Regions from separate parts of the Homo sapiens genome. Here region 2 is linked to region 1. The links are contacts of gene promoters, found by promoter capture Hi-C in human tissues and cell types (Jung and others, 2019). All regions are on one chromosome and are shown on one strand. The core of a region is centred on a gene start or on the middle of the fragment in contact, and the rest is flanking DNA. Distances in the headings are between cores, read along the strand shown. Region 1 holds the start of CYB5R1 (cytochrome b5 reductase 1). Region 2 holds the start of PPP1R15B (protein phosphatase 1 regulatory subunit 15B).

Region 1 (7,093 bases), core at 4,358-6,857:
GCTTGAACCCTGGAGGCAGAGGTTGCAGCAAGCTGAGACTGTGCCATTGCACTCCAGCCTGGGCGACAAGAGCGAAACTCCATCTCAAGAGAAAAAAAAAAAAAGAGCCCTCACAACTCAAGTGGAAGAAAACAATCCAATTAAAACTGGGCAAAATACTTGAACAGACACTTCACCAAAGATGATATATAGATGGCAAATAAGAACATGTTTATTATCATCAACCATTACATAAATGCAAATTAAAATCATAATGAGGATAGCATGGTGGCTCATGTCTGTAATCCCAACACTCTAGGAGGCCAAGGCGGGAGGATCACTTGAGCCCAGGAGTTCAAGATCAGCCTGGGCAATAAAGTGAAAGCTCGTATTTACAAAACTTTTAAAAAAATTAGCCAGGAGTGGTGGCACTTGCTTGTGGTCTCAGCTACTCAGGGAGGTTCAGGTAGAAGAATCGCTGGAGCCTGGGAGGTTGAGGCTGCAGTGAGCCGTGATCATACCACTGCACTCCAGCTTGGTGACAGAGGAGACTCTATCTCAAAAAAACAAAAAAAAAAAAGTAAAATCACAATGAGATACCTCTTCATGCCTATTAGAATGGCCAAAATCAAAAGTGCTGACAATACCAATTGCTAATGAAAATGCCGCAGCAATTGGAATTCTCATCCATTGCTAGTGGGAAGGCAAAATGGTATAATCACCTTGAAAAACAGTTTGGCAGCTTTTTATATAAAGTTAAATATACACCTTCCATGTGATCCGGAAATCACACTTGTGGATATTTCAGAGAAATAAAAACTAGGTTCACATGGAAATCTGCACATGAATGTTTAAAGCAATTTCAATCATCACCAAAAATTGGAAATAACTCAAATGTCCTTCAGCTGATGAATGGATAAACAAATTATGATACAGCCATACAACAGAATACTACTAGCAATGAAAAGAATGGACTGTAAATACACATGATAACTTGGATGAATCTCAAACTATGCTGAGTGAAAGAAATCCACTCAAAAGCTTACATATTGTATAGACTTTATTTATGTGACATTCATAAAGAGGCAAAAGTGTATTGACAGGGAACACATCAGTGATAACCAGGAGTTAAAGGTAAGGGGAGGATGTGGCCATAAAGGGATAGCATATGGGAGATTTGCAGGGTGATCAAACTGGTCTATTTCCTGATTATAGTGGTGCCACAAATCTATACATATTCTAGAATTCACAGAACTGTATGCCCAAGAGTCTATTTTAATGTATGACAATTACAAATTTAAAATGAGACAGCTGGGGCCAGGCGCAGTGGCTCATGCCTGTAATTCCAGCACTTTGGGAGGCCGAGCCGGGTGGATCACAATGTCAGGAGTTCAAGAACAGTCTGGCCAAGATGGTGAAACCCCTTCTCTACTAAAAATACAAAAATTAGCCAGGCGCCATGGCGGGCGCTGTGGAAGTCGCCTATAATCCCAGCTACTCAGGAGGCTGAGGCAGGAGAATCTCTTGAACCCGGGAGGCAGAGGTTGCAGTGAGCCGAGATCGTGCCACTGCACTCCAGCCTGGGTGACAGAGTGAGACTCCATCTCAAAAAAAAAAAAAAAAAAAAAAGGCCGGGCACGGCGGCTCATCCCTGTAATCCCAGCACTTTGGGAGGCCGAGGAGGATGGATCACAAGGTCAGGAGATTGAGACTATCCTGGCTAACACAGTGAAACCCCGTCTCTACTAAAAATACAAAAAATTAGCCAGGCGTGGTGGCGGGCGCCTGTAGTCCCAGCTACTCGGGAGGCTGAGGCAGGAGAATGGCGTGAACCTGGGAGGTGGAGCTGGTAGTGAGCCAAGATCATGCCACTGCACTCCAGCCTAGGCGACAGAGTGAGACTCCATCTCAAAAAAAAAAAAAAAAAAAAGAGACAGGTGGAACTTTGAACACTGACTAGCTATCTGATGAAACTAAGTAATTGTTGTTAATTATTTTTACATGTGATAATGGTATTATGGTTATTTTTAAGTCCTTAGCTTTTAAAGATACACACTAAAATATTTAAGGACAAAGTTATAAAAAATATGGGATTTGCTTAAAAATAATACTGGAGGAAGGAACGGACTGGGGAAGAAATGAAAGAAAGGTGACCATGATTTAATAATTGTTGAAGAGGGTGATGGGTACGTCGGGCTTTATTATACTGTTCTGTCTACTTTTGTATATGTTTGATAGTTTCCATACTAAAAAGTTCAGCCAGGCACGGTGGCTTACGCCTGTAATCCCAGCACTTTGGGAGGCTGAGGCAGGCGGATCACGAAGTTAGGAGTTTGAGACCAGCCTGGCCAACATGGTGAAACCTCGTCTCTACTAAAAGTACAAAAATTAGCCGGGGATGGTGGCGCATGCCTGTAATCCCAGCTACTCAGGAGGCTGAGGCAGAAGAATCACTTGAACCTGGGAGGCAGAGGTTGCAGTGAGTCGAGATTGCGCCACTGCACTCCAGCCTGGGTGACAGAGCAAGACTCCGTCTCAAAAAAAAAAGAAAAGTTCAAAAAGGGTGTGAGGTTGTTAGTTTTCAACATCAAGCTGCCTGGTATGCAGTCTGAGTTTGCCATTTAGTAGGTGATCTTGGGCAAGTGACTTACTTGTCCTAAACTTCAGTTTCCCCCCACTCCATAAAATGAGACTACTAATGATAATATCTATCTCACAGTTGTTGTCAGGATTAAATGGATGTTGTCAGAATACGTGAAAAGCAATTTACCTAGTTCTTGCTATATTGCACATGCTCAATAAATGTTAATTTTTTTGTCATTATTACATCTCCTGGTCTGATTCCTCCATGCCATCTCCTCAGTATGAGCAAGTCTTCCTCCAAGCTTCTTTCTGGATATCTTATCTAAAAAGGGCCACTGAGTTTTACATCCTAATTCAGAATTATAAAACACAGGTTTGAAATTCTACTTCCCCCTCACACTACATTATATATATATATTTTTTTAAACAGGGTCTTGCTCTATTGCCCAGGCTGGAGTGCAGTGGCGCAATCATGGCTCACTGCAGCGTTGATCTCCCAGGCTCAAGCAATACCCCCACCTCAGCCTCCTTAGTATCTAGGACTACAGGCCAGCGCCATCGCACTTGGCTAATTTTTGTATTTTTGTAAAGACAGGATTTTGCCATGTTGCCCAGGCTGGTCTCAAACTCCTGGGCTCAAGTGATCCATCCAGCCTCCCAAAGTGATGGGATTACAGGCGTGAACCCAGCCTGTTCTATTCTTTATTGTATACCCAGGAGGAAATCCTAAACTTAAAAGATTGGGTTAAATAAAAATTCAGAAATGCCTATCTTTTCCTCCAAACTAGGAGTAATGTAAGATTACCATGAGTCGTGGTGGAGTGGAGTTCAATTCACCACAGAATCTGAGACAGGAAGACCTGCCAGGCCATCAGCCCCTTCCCACCACTCCTGCAGCATTCATTTTCAGGAGCAAAAGAGCCTTCCCACAATTACTGAGTCCAACACTTAGTTTCCAGGATAAGCCCACACCCAACCATTCTGTCCTGTGGTTCCCAGTGATACACTCACACTTGTTAGAATGTGCCACTTTGGGGTTCAGAAAATGCAATCACTGAGAGAAGCCCGAGTTGTAGTTATGCTCTCCTTTCGTTCCATACTTCCCCCTCTCTTGCCACATCTATCCACTAGAGGGAGGAAGGCCTAGAACCTCTTTAGCCAGAGTGGAGCAGTGGCAAGGATCAGTAGTGTGGCTTCTTAACCAAGCCAGCAGTGGGGATGTCAGAAGCACCGGAACATAATCGCCTCATTCTCTCGGAACAGAAAAGAGGAAGGGTCCCTTCCTTCCCCTTTTCAACCCTCTCTGCATGGATTGGCATGTCACCATGATCTGGTGCACTCACTTCCCTCAAGTCAGTGTGCAGGCTGCTTAAAAAATTCAGAGGAACATGTACTGGGGTCTTAGGAACATTTTCAGCCAGTGGAGAGGAAAAGGAAAACTAAGTATCTCTTGGATCATTCACAGAGTTCACCAAATACAACTGAAAACTGGGGGCTCTAATGTCCCTGCTGCCCTGATGGTATTAGTTTAAGATGTTGACACTGACATCTGCAGAGATCTCATCCATCACGGTATATCAAAGAGCAAATGTCATTCTAGTTGAGAAACTCATGTATGAGAAAGAATGGTCATCTTGGGAAATCTGTAGCTCCAGCGGCTCCTGATGTTTTTTCCTGCCTCCTCCTGTCCCATGCTTGTGCCCCAGGCAGAGCTCATTCCTAAAACCATAGCTGACCCTCTGTGCTGTCTTTTAAGTTATAATAGTAGCTGCCAACTGTTGAATATTTTGCTTTATGACAGGCACTACACTAAGCACGTTAACATATCTCACTGAAGCCTCACACCAAAGCTATGAACTAGATACAATCTATCTGTAGATAATAATATATATCCATCTGTAGATATCCATCTTATATCCATCTGTAGATGAAGAAACTCAGGTTGAGTAAGCTATCTAAGGTCACAGAGCCAATAAGTGCTAGAGGCAAGATTCTTATTCTGTACACTCTGCCTCCAAAGCCCACTTCTTTGACCCTAAGGGCACAAGAACCCAAATCAGGATGTGAAGCTTGGTCTTTGAAACCAAAGGAAGCTCCTGAATCATCCTGATAGGCTGACGGCTTGGCGCTGTAAACAAAATCAGTCTTTTGTCAAAAGGAAATGAAGTTGCCATGCCACTGTTCACTCCTGTAAGAGACTCCTCTGGGCTGTTCCATTCTCTTGCTGCAATTCAGCCGGTTGAAAAACTAAGGTGACTGCACAATGATTAACTTCAGGCCCTTCTGCTCTACTTTGAGCCTGTCTCTGGTTCATCGTTACACTCTCCGCTCAGCACCCGCAGACTCAAGAGATTTCCAATCCCCCAATTTAGCGTGGTTCTACCTTAGGCAGAACTCCCATCCAGTTCGGATATAAGCGGGTCGAAGTGGCAGGGACCACCTCGCTGGGAGGAGAGGCTGGAGCTGCGGTCTTAAAAGATCTTGGGGCCGGGCGCGATGGCTCACGCCTGTAATCCCAACACGTTGGGAGGCCGAAGCGGGTAGATTATTTGAGCCCTGGAGCTCGAGACCACCCTGACCAACACGGTGAAACCCAGTCTGTACTAAAAATACAAAAAAAAAATTAGCCGGGCGTGGTGGCGCACGCCAGTAGTCCCAGATACTCGGGAGGCGGAGCCAGGAGAACCACTTGAAACTGGGAGGCGGAGGTTGCAGTAACCGAGATCGCGCCACTGCACTCCAGCCTGGGCGACAGAGCGAGGCTCCGACTCAAAAAAAAAAAAAAAAGTATTGAATAAGCACCGGAGACCCTGAGCCACCGAGTAGCGGAGGGAAAGGGTGGCGCGCAGAGGGGCCCAGCCCCGCCTCTGCCGGACCCCGCCCCCAAAAGGCCCCGCCGCCGCCACCTCCTGCTAGGCCCCGCCCCCGACAGACACCCCCCCCCCCCCCCGCCAGGCCCCGCCTCCTGCCCCCCCAGCCGCGAGGTCCTGCCTCCTGCCCGGCCCCGCCCCCGGCCTGCCCCGCCCTCCGACCCGCCCCGCGGCGCATTGTGGGATCTGTCGGCTTGTCAGGTGGTGGAGGAAAAGGCGCTCCGTCATGGGGATCCAGACGGTAAGACCCTCATTCAGTATCCTCCACTGGGGGACCCCTCCCCATCTGGTTCTGGCCACTCAGCTCCGGACCAGGGGCTGTCGCTGCCGACCCCGCCCCGCAGGGCTCTGGGCCCACCGTGGATGCTGGGGTCCCGATCCCGCACATCCGGGCTCGGGACTCCGCCAGGTTACCCCTCTGCCCTTGGCATGCCTCCGCGCTGGAGCTCGGGATCGCCACCCCTGGGACGGTCACCACCCAAGCCCCGGGCTCTTACCCAGCCTGGCGGTCACGCTGCCTCCTCTACCCACAGAGCCCCGTCCTGCTGGCCTCCCTGGGGGTGGGGCTGGTCACTCTGCTCGGCCTGGCTGTGGGCTCCTACTTGGTTCGGAGGTCCCGCCGGCCTCAGGTCACTCTCCTGGACCCCAATGAAAAGTACCTGCTACGACTGCTAGACAAGACGGTAAGTTGGGGAAGAAAGGGCCAGGGTGAAGGAGGGGACCAGAGTGCTCCTGGCATGGAGGGTACAGCACCCACGGTGGTTGGGATGTCCAAGGGACGTGGCAGCGCCAGGCGCGCTTGGTGAAACACTTGTGTCCTCCACCCTCCAGACTGTGAGCCACAACACCAAGAGGTTCCGCTTTGCCCTGCCCACCGCCCACCACACTCTGGGGCTGCCTGTGGGTAAGGAAAGTGTGGAATGGGCTCCTTTCCCTGGTATCCTCAGAAGGTGACTCCCCTCCTGGGATCTCATGAAACACGCTGCTTCAACCGGTTTGCTCCACACACCATTCCCCTTCCCCCACTTGGCTCTGCATCCTCCAAGCTGTGAGGTGCCACTGGGCCCCTCTAGAGTGTGGCTTCCATGACCCCCATCCAGCTTTAACACTCAACAGTCTTGCCTCTTCCCTGCAGGATTTGCTAATTACTCCCTCTGAGCAAGCACTACTAACTTTTTCCCATTGCCCAGACCCTTTTGGCTCATCTGTCAAGGTCCTGGCAGTAACTGGCAGGAAACGCTGGAAATAAGTGTTTCCTCAACTGGGCGCTTATAAGAGATCCAACTGAGGGCTCAATGGGGCAAATCTTCCCTGCCTTGTAGCTCCTTGGGACCACAGCAGGAAGCAAGACATCTTGTTCTCTCAAATCTCTTTGAGTATTTTGAGGGATGCAGCACATCACAGACAACCCTTATGTAGCTCTCTGCACGGTCCCCAGGCAAACATATCTACCTCTCCACCCGAATTGATGGCAGCCTGGTCATCAGGCCATACACTCCTGTCACCAGTGATGAGGATCAAGGCTATGTGGATCTTGTCATCAAGGTAAGGGGCTAGGAAGGGACCCAGGGGCTGCTTACCCATTCTTTCTGGGATTTGTAGAAATTTCTAAGATTTGCCTGACAGCAGGAAATGGTATGTACTCTGTGGATGTGAAGAAA
Region 2 (7,521 bases), core at 1,211-3,710, 1.4 Mb before region 1:
TATTCTGCAGGCAATGAGGAAACAACTGAAGACTGTAAAGCAGAACCACACAAGAATATTAGCTAATCTTTGTGCTCCTACTCTGTCTAGGCTAGGCACTGAGAAAACTTAGTTTTCTTACCAATCCATTGAAAGAGGAATTACTAGCCTCACTTTACAAGAAACAGGCTTCTGGTAACAAATTTGCCTACTTGGATCTGTATTATGAAACTGACCTCTATTATTAATACATTTTTCTGAAGTTCATAGGATTGAGATTTTCCAGAGGTATGGATAATAATACAGGATAAACAACAGAAACTGAGGTCCTCTTGGCTTCCTAGAAAGAAGTGGTTGTGCCGAACGTGGTGGCTCACGCCTGTAATCCCAGCACTTTGGGAGGCTGAGGCGGGCAGATCACAAGGTCAGGAAATTGAGACCATCCTGGCTAACATGGTGAAACTCCGTCTCTACTAAAAATACAAAAATTAGCCGGGCGTGGTGGCATGTGCCTGTAGTCCTAGCTACTAGGGAGGCTGAGGCAGGATAATAGTTTGAACCCAGGAAGGCGGAGGTTGCAGTGAGCAGAGATCACACCACTGCACTATATCCTGGGCAACAGAGCGAGACTCGTCTCAAAAAAGAAAAAAAGAAGTGGTTGTTCCTTGAACAGGCCCAGTAAGGCAGGAGGAGCTGCTGGTCTCCTCCCAGCTCCCTAAAGATTTTTCTGCTGTCCCTAGTGCTCATAACTGCCACCCTCCCTCTGTAATTGGTACTTGACTTCAGGGGTATCTATTACAGAGTTTTAGCAGAAATAAAGAAATGAACTAAGACCAAACTCACAAGAGATAATCAAATACAGCAATTAAAATTACCAGCCATTTTTTTTTTCAAAGGATAGTGGTCCATGTTTCCTTTTTGGCTGTTGTATTCTGTGGTTCTGGTTGCTAAGGAAGTATTAATAAATATGAATTGAATATGTTGCCTGCTTGGAAGCATAAAAGAGAGTAAATAGTTCTGGGGACTGAGCTGCTTCTCTGTGAGTTTAGTTTGCCCCACACCAGACATGTATGTACGCAGCACTGCCCAACTTTTACATAAGATCTCAGGTTGATGGTCTACATAGTACTGAACAATAGGAGAACCCTGAAATATCTGTCAGGCTGGGCGCAGTGGCTCACGCCTGTAACCCCAGCACTTTAGGAGGCCGAGGCGGGCAGATCACTTGAGCTGAGTTTGAAACCAACCTGGGCAACACGACGAAACCCTGTCTCTATAAAAATATGCAAAAATTGGCCGAGCACGGTGGCTCACGCCTGTAATCCCAGCACTTTGGGAGGCTGAGGCGGGCGGATCACAAGGTCAGGAGATCGAGACCATCCTAGCCAACATGGTGAAACCCTGTCTCTACTAAAAATACAAAAAATTAACTGGGCGTGGTGGCACACGCCTGTAGTACCAGCTACTAGGGAGGCTGGGGCAGGAGAATCGCTTGAACCCGGGAGGCGGAGGTTGCAGTGAGCCGAGATTGCGCCACTGCACTCCAGCCTGGCGACAGAGTGGGAATCCGTCTCAAAAAAAAAAAAAATTTAGCTGGGCGTGGTGGTGCGAGCCTGTAGTCCCAGCTCCTCGGGAGGCTGAGGTGGGAGGCTCACTGGAGCCCAGGAGGTTGAGGCTGCAGTGAGCCGAGATCGCACTACTGCACTCCAGCCTGGGCGACAGAGCTAGACCCTGTCTCAAATAAATAAATAATAAAAATCTAAGACTACGATAACCCTACAGTTGGCCCGCGGGGCATTCAACCTTCCATGGATTGAAAATATTCGGGAAAAATAAAGATAATAAAACATAATACAAATAAATACAGTATAACAACTAGTTCCATAGCACTTGCATTGTATTAGGTATTATACTTAATCTAGGGGATGGTTTAAATATCTGGGAAGGTGTATGCAGGTTATATGCAAACACTATACCATTTTACATAAGGGACTTGACCGTCTGCGGATTCTGGTGTCTACGGGGTCCTGGAACTAATCCCCATTTCATGAGAGGGGATGACTGTACACACGTCAGTGTGTATTAGGCCATCAAAACGCCTCCGGGAAATTCTCGGGTTATTTTGAAAACCCCTCCCCTCCCCAAGACCTTTAACCTAGAGGGCTGTTGGGGCGGTCTCCTAGGAGACCACACAGAAACGACTGCGCATGCGTGCATTCCCCCCCCCCCCCCCCCCCCCCCCCCCGCCCCGGCTGATGCAACCTCACGCTGCCGTGCGGCTCTACCTCGAGTAAGGAAGCCGACAGGGAAATCTGGCAAAACCAATCGGCGGCCACACGGAAGTGGGCGGAAAGGCCCGCCCCCCGGGGATTTTGCGAGTGACGTTGGGCGGCGCGGCGCTAGGGACGTAGACGCCCAACAGTCCTGCGTCTCTTCCGGCGTCTAGGGGGGTGTCCTGCCGGCGCGCGGGCCCTGCGGCCATTTTGGGCTTCGCTTCCACCGCACCAGCCGGCCTACCCAGTCCTTCCGGTATCGCGTTGCTCAGGGGCTTTTCAACCCTCTGTCAGTCGGAAAACCATCGCCGAGGCCGTGGGGGGACTCCTATCCATGGTGTTGAAGCGTCGAGCCGACTAGGGAACCTCCTTCCCCGCCAGGATGGAAGTCGCATCAGTCGCCGCCTATTGCGCGGGCTGTTCTTCCCTGTGTTCTGCCGCCCGCTGCCGCATTCGCTGCCCTCTGTGGCTTTTCTGCTGGCTCGAAGATCGGCCTGGAGCAGCGACGCCACCGCTGGGCAAGGCCGAGACTCTGTAGGCTTCCTCCGAATCCCGTCGACCTCCAGCCGCTGAGCGCCGCGGCCCTACCTGAGAGACTGTCAAGAAAAAGGAGATGGAGCCGGGGACAGGCGGATCGCGGAAACGGCTTGGCCCTCGGGCGGGCTTCCGGTTCTGGCCACCCTTTTTCCCTCGGCGATCGCAAGCAGGCTCTTCTAAGTTCCCGACGCCTCTTGGCCCGGAAAACTCCGGGAACCCCACACTGCTTTCCTCTGCCCAGCCCGAGACTCGGGTCAGTTACTGGACGAAACTGCTCTCCCAGCTCCTTGCGCCGCTCCCCGGATTGCTTCAGAAGGTGCTAATTTGGAGCCAACTTTTCGGTGGAATGTTTCCGACCAGATGGCTAGATTTTGCTGGAGTCTACAGCGCCCTGAGAGCCCTGAAGGGACGGGAGAAACCAGCCGCCCCCACAGCGCAGAAATCTTTGAGTTCGCTGCAGCTCGACTCCTCAGACCCCTCGGTCACCAGTCCCCTTGATTGGCTAGAGGAGGGGATCCACTGGCAATACTCGCCCCCAGACCTAAAATTGGAGCTTAAGGCCAAGGGAAGTGCTTTGGACCCTGCAGCACAGGCTTTTCTCTTAGAGCAGCAGCTGTGGGGAGTGGAGCTGTTGCCCAGTAGCCTTCAATCCCGTCTGTACTCTAACCGGGAACTTGGCTCTTCGCCCTCTGGGCCTCTAAACATTCAACGCATAGACAATTTCAGTGTGGTATCCTATTTGCTGAACCCTTCCTACCTGGACTGCTTTCCTAGGCTAGAAGTCAGCTATCAGAACAGTGATGGAAATAGCGAGGTAGTCGGCTTCCAGACACTAACCCCAGAGAGCAGCTGCCTGAGAGAGGACCATTGTCATCCCCAGCCGCTGAGTGCAGAACTCATTCCGGCCTCGTGGCAGGGATGTCCACCTCTTTCTACGGAAGGCCTACCAGAAATTCACCATCTTCGCATGAAACGGCTGGAATTCCTTCAACAGGCTAGCAAGGGGCAAGATTTACCCACCCCTGACCAGGATAATGGCTACCACAGCCTGGAGGAGGAACACAGCCTTCTCCGGATGGATCCAAAACACTGCAGAGATAACCCAACACAGTTTGTTCCTGCTGCTGGAGACATTCCTGGAAACACCCAGGAATCCACTGAAGAAAAAATAGAATTATTAACTACAGAGGTTCCACTTGCTTTGGAAGAAGAGAGCCCTTCTGAGGGCTGTCCATCTAGTGAGATACCTATGGAAAAGGAGCCTGGAGAGGGCCGAATAAGTGTAGTTGATTACTCATACCTAGAAGGTGACCTTCCCATTTCTGCCAGACCAGCTTGTAGTAACAAACTGATAGATTATATTTTGGGAGGTGCATCCAGTGACCTGGAAACAAGTTCTGATCCAGAAGGTGAGGATTGGGATGAGGAAGCTGAGGATGATGGTTTTGATAGTGATAGCTCACTGTCAGACTCAGACCTTGAACAAGACCCTGAAGGGCTTCACCTTTGGAACTCTTTCTGCAGTGTAGATCCTTATAATCCCCAGAACTTTACAGCAACAATTCAGACTGCTGCCAGAATTGTTCCTGAAGAGCCTTCTGATTCAGAGAAGGATTTGTCTGGCAAGTCTGATCTAGAGAATTCCTCCCAGTCTGGAAGCCTTCCTGAGACCCCTGAGCATAGTTCTGGGGAGGAAGATGACTGGGAATCTAGTGCAGATGAAGCAGAGAGTCTCAAACTGTGGAACTCATTCTGTAATTCTGATGACCCCTACAACCCTTTAAATTTTAAGGCTCCTTTTCAAACATCAGGGGAAAATGAGAAAGGCTGTCGTGACTCAAAGACCCCATCTGAGTCCATTGTGGCCATTTCTGAGTGTCACACCTTACTTTCTTGTAAGGTGCAGCTGTTGGGGAGCCAAGAAAGTGAATGTCCAGACTCGGTACAGCGTGACGTTCTTTCTGGAGGAAGACACACACATGTCAAAAGAAAAAAGGTTTGTTTCTTGTCTTTTAACATGCCTGATATGTTCTGACTGTTTTTATATGCTTAAATATAGCAGCATGACTTTGGAGGCTTAGGAGTGCATGTATTTTTGAGGAAGGCCTCTAAATTCATATACTTGGATTGAGAAATATGTAAATGACCCTTCTCCTCCTGTCCCTCACCCCCCACCCCAATGCACATTGTTGCTGTCCAAAACGAACATACCAGTGTGTAGATGTTAGCAGGAAAGTGCCATTTTTATTTGGGTTGGTAGTTCTGGACTGTTTCCTTACAAGCTTCAATTTTTCACACTTTTTAACGGACTATTAAACTTTGTGTGTACACGATTTAATTTTTCTAGAGATTGAAAAGGTCCTGTTACAGCCATAGAGTTTTAAAATGATTTTAAATGTATGTTGTCTGCAAATACTTAATATTTTTTTTGCATATAACAAGAGTGTCTTCATTCCTGTCCATTACAACCCAAAGGGATGATGATATCAAGTAGCAAGTCAGATTTATCTGGTCCAATTGGCCATGAAATTAAATAGTAATTTCACTGGTTTTGACATTACATGGTTTTAATTGAAAGTCAAAGCCAGTACAGGAAGTGGTATTGCCTTTTCTTAGGAATGCAATGCTAGTTATCAGTGGTCAGCTACAGGTTAATATTAATAATAAACAGTGATGGCCACTTACTTGGTTTATCTTGACTAGTTGCTTCCTTTTCCCAGGCTAGTCTTAAAACTTCATGCAGCATTTTACGCTTTAATTACATTGTCAGGTTAACCTTATTTTGGGAGTCTTTAGAGTTGGTTTGTTTTTCTTTATAGTTGATTCAACTAAAGTTATTAATTGAACTCTTCTCCAAACTCAAAGGTGTCTATTATTGTAGAGGGAACGTTTTTTTAGTTTTCTATACCGTTACTTGGAGAGAGAAGTTAGTGGGTGAGTTATTATTGACCTCAGATTCTGCCTCACTGGGGCGTTTCAAATGGACAGTACCATAATCTCTTGGCTCCACATGGCCAGCTTACTACTTTGAAATTATTCCTGGGTAGAAAATGTCTCAAAATGGTGATAATCTTACGTCTTACCTTTAGGGCAGAATAAGTCATGTTAAAGATTAAATTTTAGTTCACACTTTGTAAATGCCATCTCTCTTTGTCCTTTTAAGGGGCCCCTGACAAAATGACCTATTTAGAATGAATAGGTAAGAAACAAAGTGGGGCAATGGAATGAGCACTTGGCAGCTGGAGCCCTGTGTTCTCTACTCCTCAGTGGTTAAGGCGCAGAGATTTGGAAGGCAGCCAGACCTGGGAAGTTGCTTGACTCTCATGGCCTCAATTCACTCTTACTTGATGGGTAAAATAATAATATCTATTGTACAAGTTATTGCAAGATTTAAATGAGACAAGTAAATAAAACTCAGAATTTATTGCCTTGCCTTTAAATGCTAGCTCTTATTGAGAGACCTCAGGCCAGTCTCATGTCTTGTTTTAGCTTGCTCGTTGAGTAAAATGAAATGAGTGGAGTAGATGATACTATTGACTATGAACTAGAAGCAGAATTTATAAATGATTATGTCTGAATATGATATAATTATTTGACAGCCTTTGACTACCTGCCATTGGTATATATGGGGAATGGTGTATGGAATATATGGAGTATATAGGATGATGGACAGTGAGTCTAAAAAACCCTTCTACCTCTGTTTTCTTATCGGTATAATGGGGATGATAATAGTCCATACCTCATAGGGTTAATGTGAGGATTAGATGAGATAAAAATGTAAAGCTCTTTAAAAAAAGCCTGGTATATGGTAAACACTGTACGTTTTTATTATTTATCTTAATGACACAATGAATGAGTAGTATTCAAGACTAGAATGCAATAACTAGTAAGGTGTTACATACCTGCTAATTGTCCTCAGGGGCATCCCTTGGCTTGATGTAAAGGGAACGAAAGTAGTAGGCCACATTGGGGTTAGCTGATGTAACTATTAAACATACTTGAAAGCAAGTATTTACTTTTGGAGTTTGATATCTTAGAAAGAAACTTCATTAGAAATTAAGTAGTGATTAGTAATGAGTAGGGATTGTCACTCATTACATGTCATTATGTATATTAGAATCACAATTTCATATATAGTGATAGCATATTGAATACAAAGGTTTTTAAAATCTTAACTACAAAGTTTCTTAGAGTAACACAGCTTTAAAAATACTAATTTTGCTATACTTTGTTTACTAAGTAACTTTTTCTCTTCTGTATTGTTATTGCCAAAGTAATGATACAAAAATAGTACAACATGTTGATTTAAAAGTTGGAAAGTGAAAAAAATTTTTAAAAGGAAAAAGAATAGAAGTAAGCAAAAATATTGTTAAAGCCTTTATGCAGTGATAAAAACAGTGACTTCCAGGGATATAGTGGTTATTTTCAGAAATATTTTGCTTGTCATTTTGAGGGAAAAATATCACAGAACTGTATTTCCCTAAGGATTAAAAAATAGCAGGGGTTAATAACAGCATGAAAAATTCAATTCCCTATCTGGATTCATTTTATTAACACCAAAAGCCAAGGGCTGGTGGGGGATTGGGGGGGGCAGACGACTGTGTGTGTATATTATGCAGATATAGATAAATGAAGTATATATAGATGAAAGATATATATCTCTATATGAAATATTTAGGTGACATTTGTTCACTATTTTATCCAAATGCCATCTAATCTGAACTTTTTTTTT

The links. The method cuts DNA at HindIII sites, captures the fragments that hold promoters and counts their contacts. A contact is called where the count stands out against the background at its distance.
Region 2: a contact is called between the fragment with the promoter of PPP1R15B here and the fragment with the promoter of CYB5R1 in region 1, in 1 of the 25 tissues and cell types used here (thymus).

Annotation. Positions count from the first base shown.
Region 1 is chr1:202,965,771-202,972,863 of GRCh38, reverse strand. It overlaps CYB5R1 (cytochrome b5 reductase 1), which reads left to right and starts at 5,607. Exons shown (of 9, transcript NM_016243.3): 1 at 5,607-5,673; 2 at 5,966-6,115; 3 at 6,264-6,336; 4 at 6,871-6,977. The coding sequence starts at 5,659. RefSeq lists silencers at 4,509-4,803, 5,420-5,579, 5,650-5,699. The HindIII fragment of the contact is 6,951 bases long and covers 3,749-7,093 here.
Region 2 is chr1:204,406,756-204,414,276 of GRCh38, reverse strand. PPP1R15B (protein phosphatase 1 regulatory subunit 15B) reads left to right here and starts at 2,460. Exons shown (of 2, transcript NM_032833.5): 1 at 2,460-4,785. The coding sequence starts at 2,866. RefSeq lists enhancers at 2,173-2,222, 2,233-2,932, 3,193-3,342, 2,649-3,483 and a silencer at 2,268-2,714. The HindIII fragment of the contact is 8,124 bases long and covers 1-7,521 here.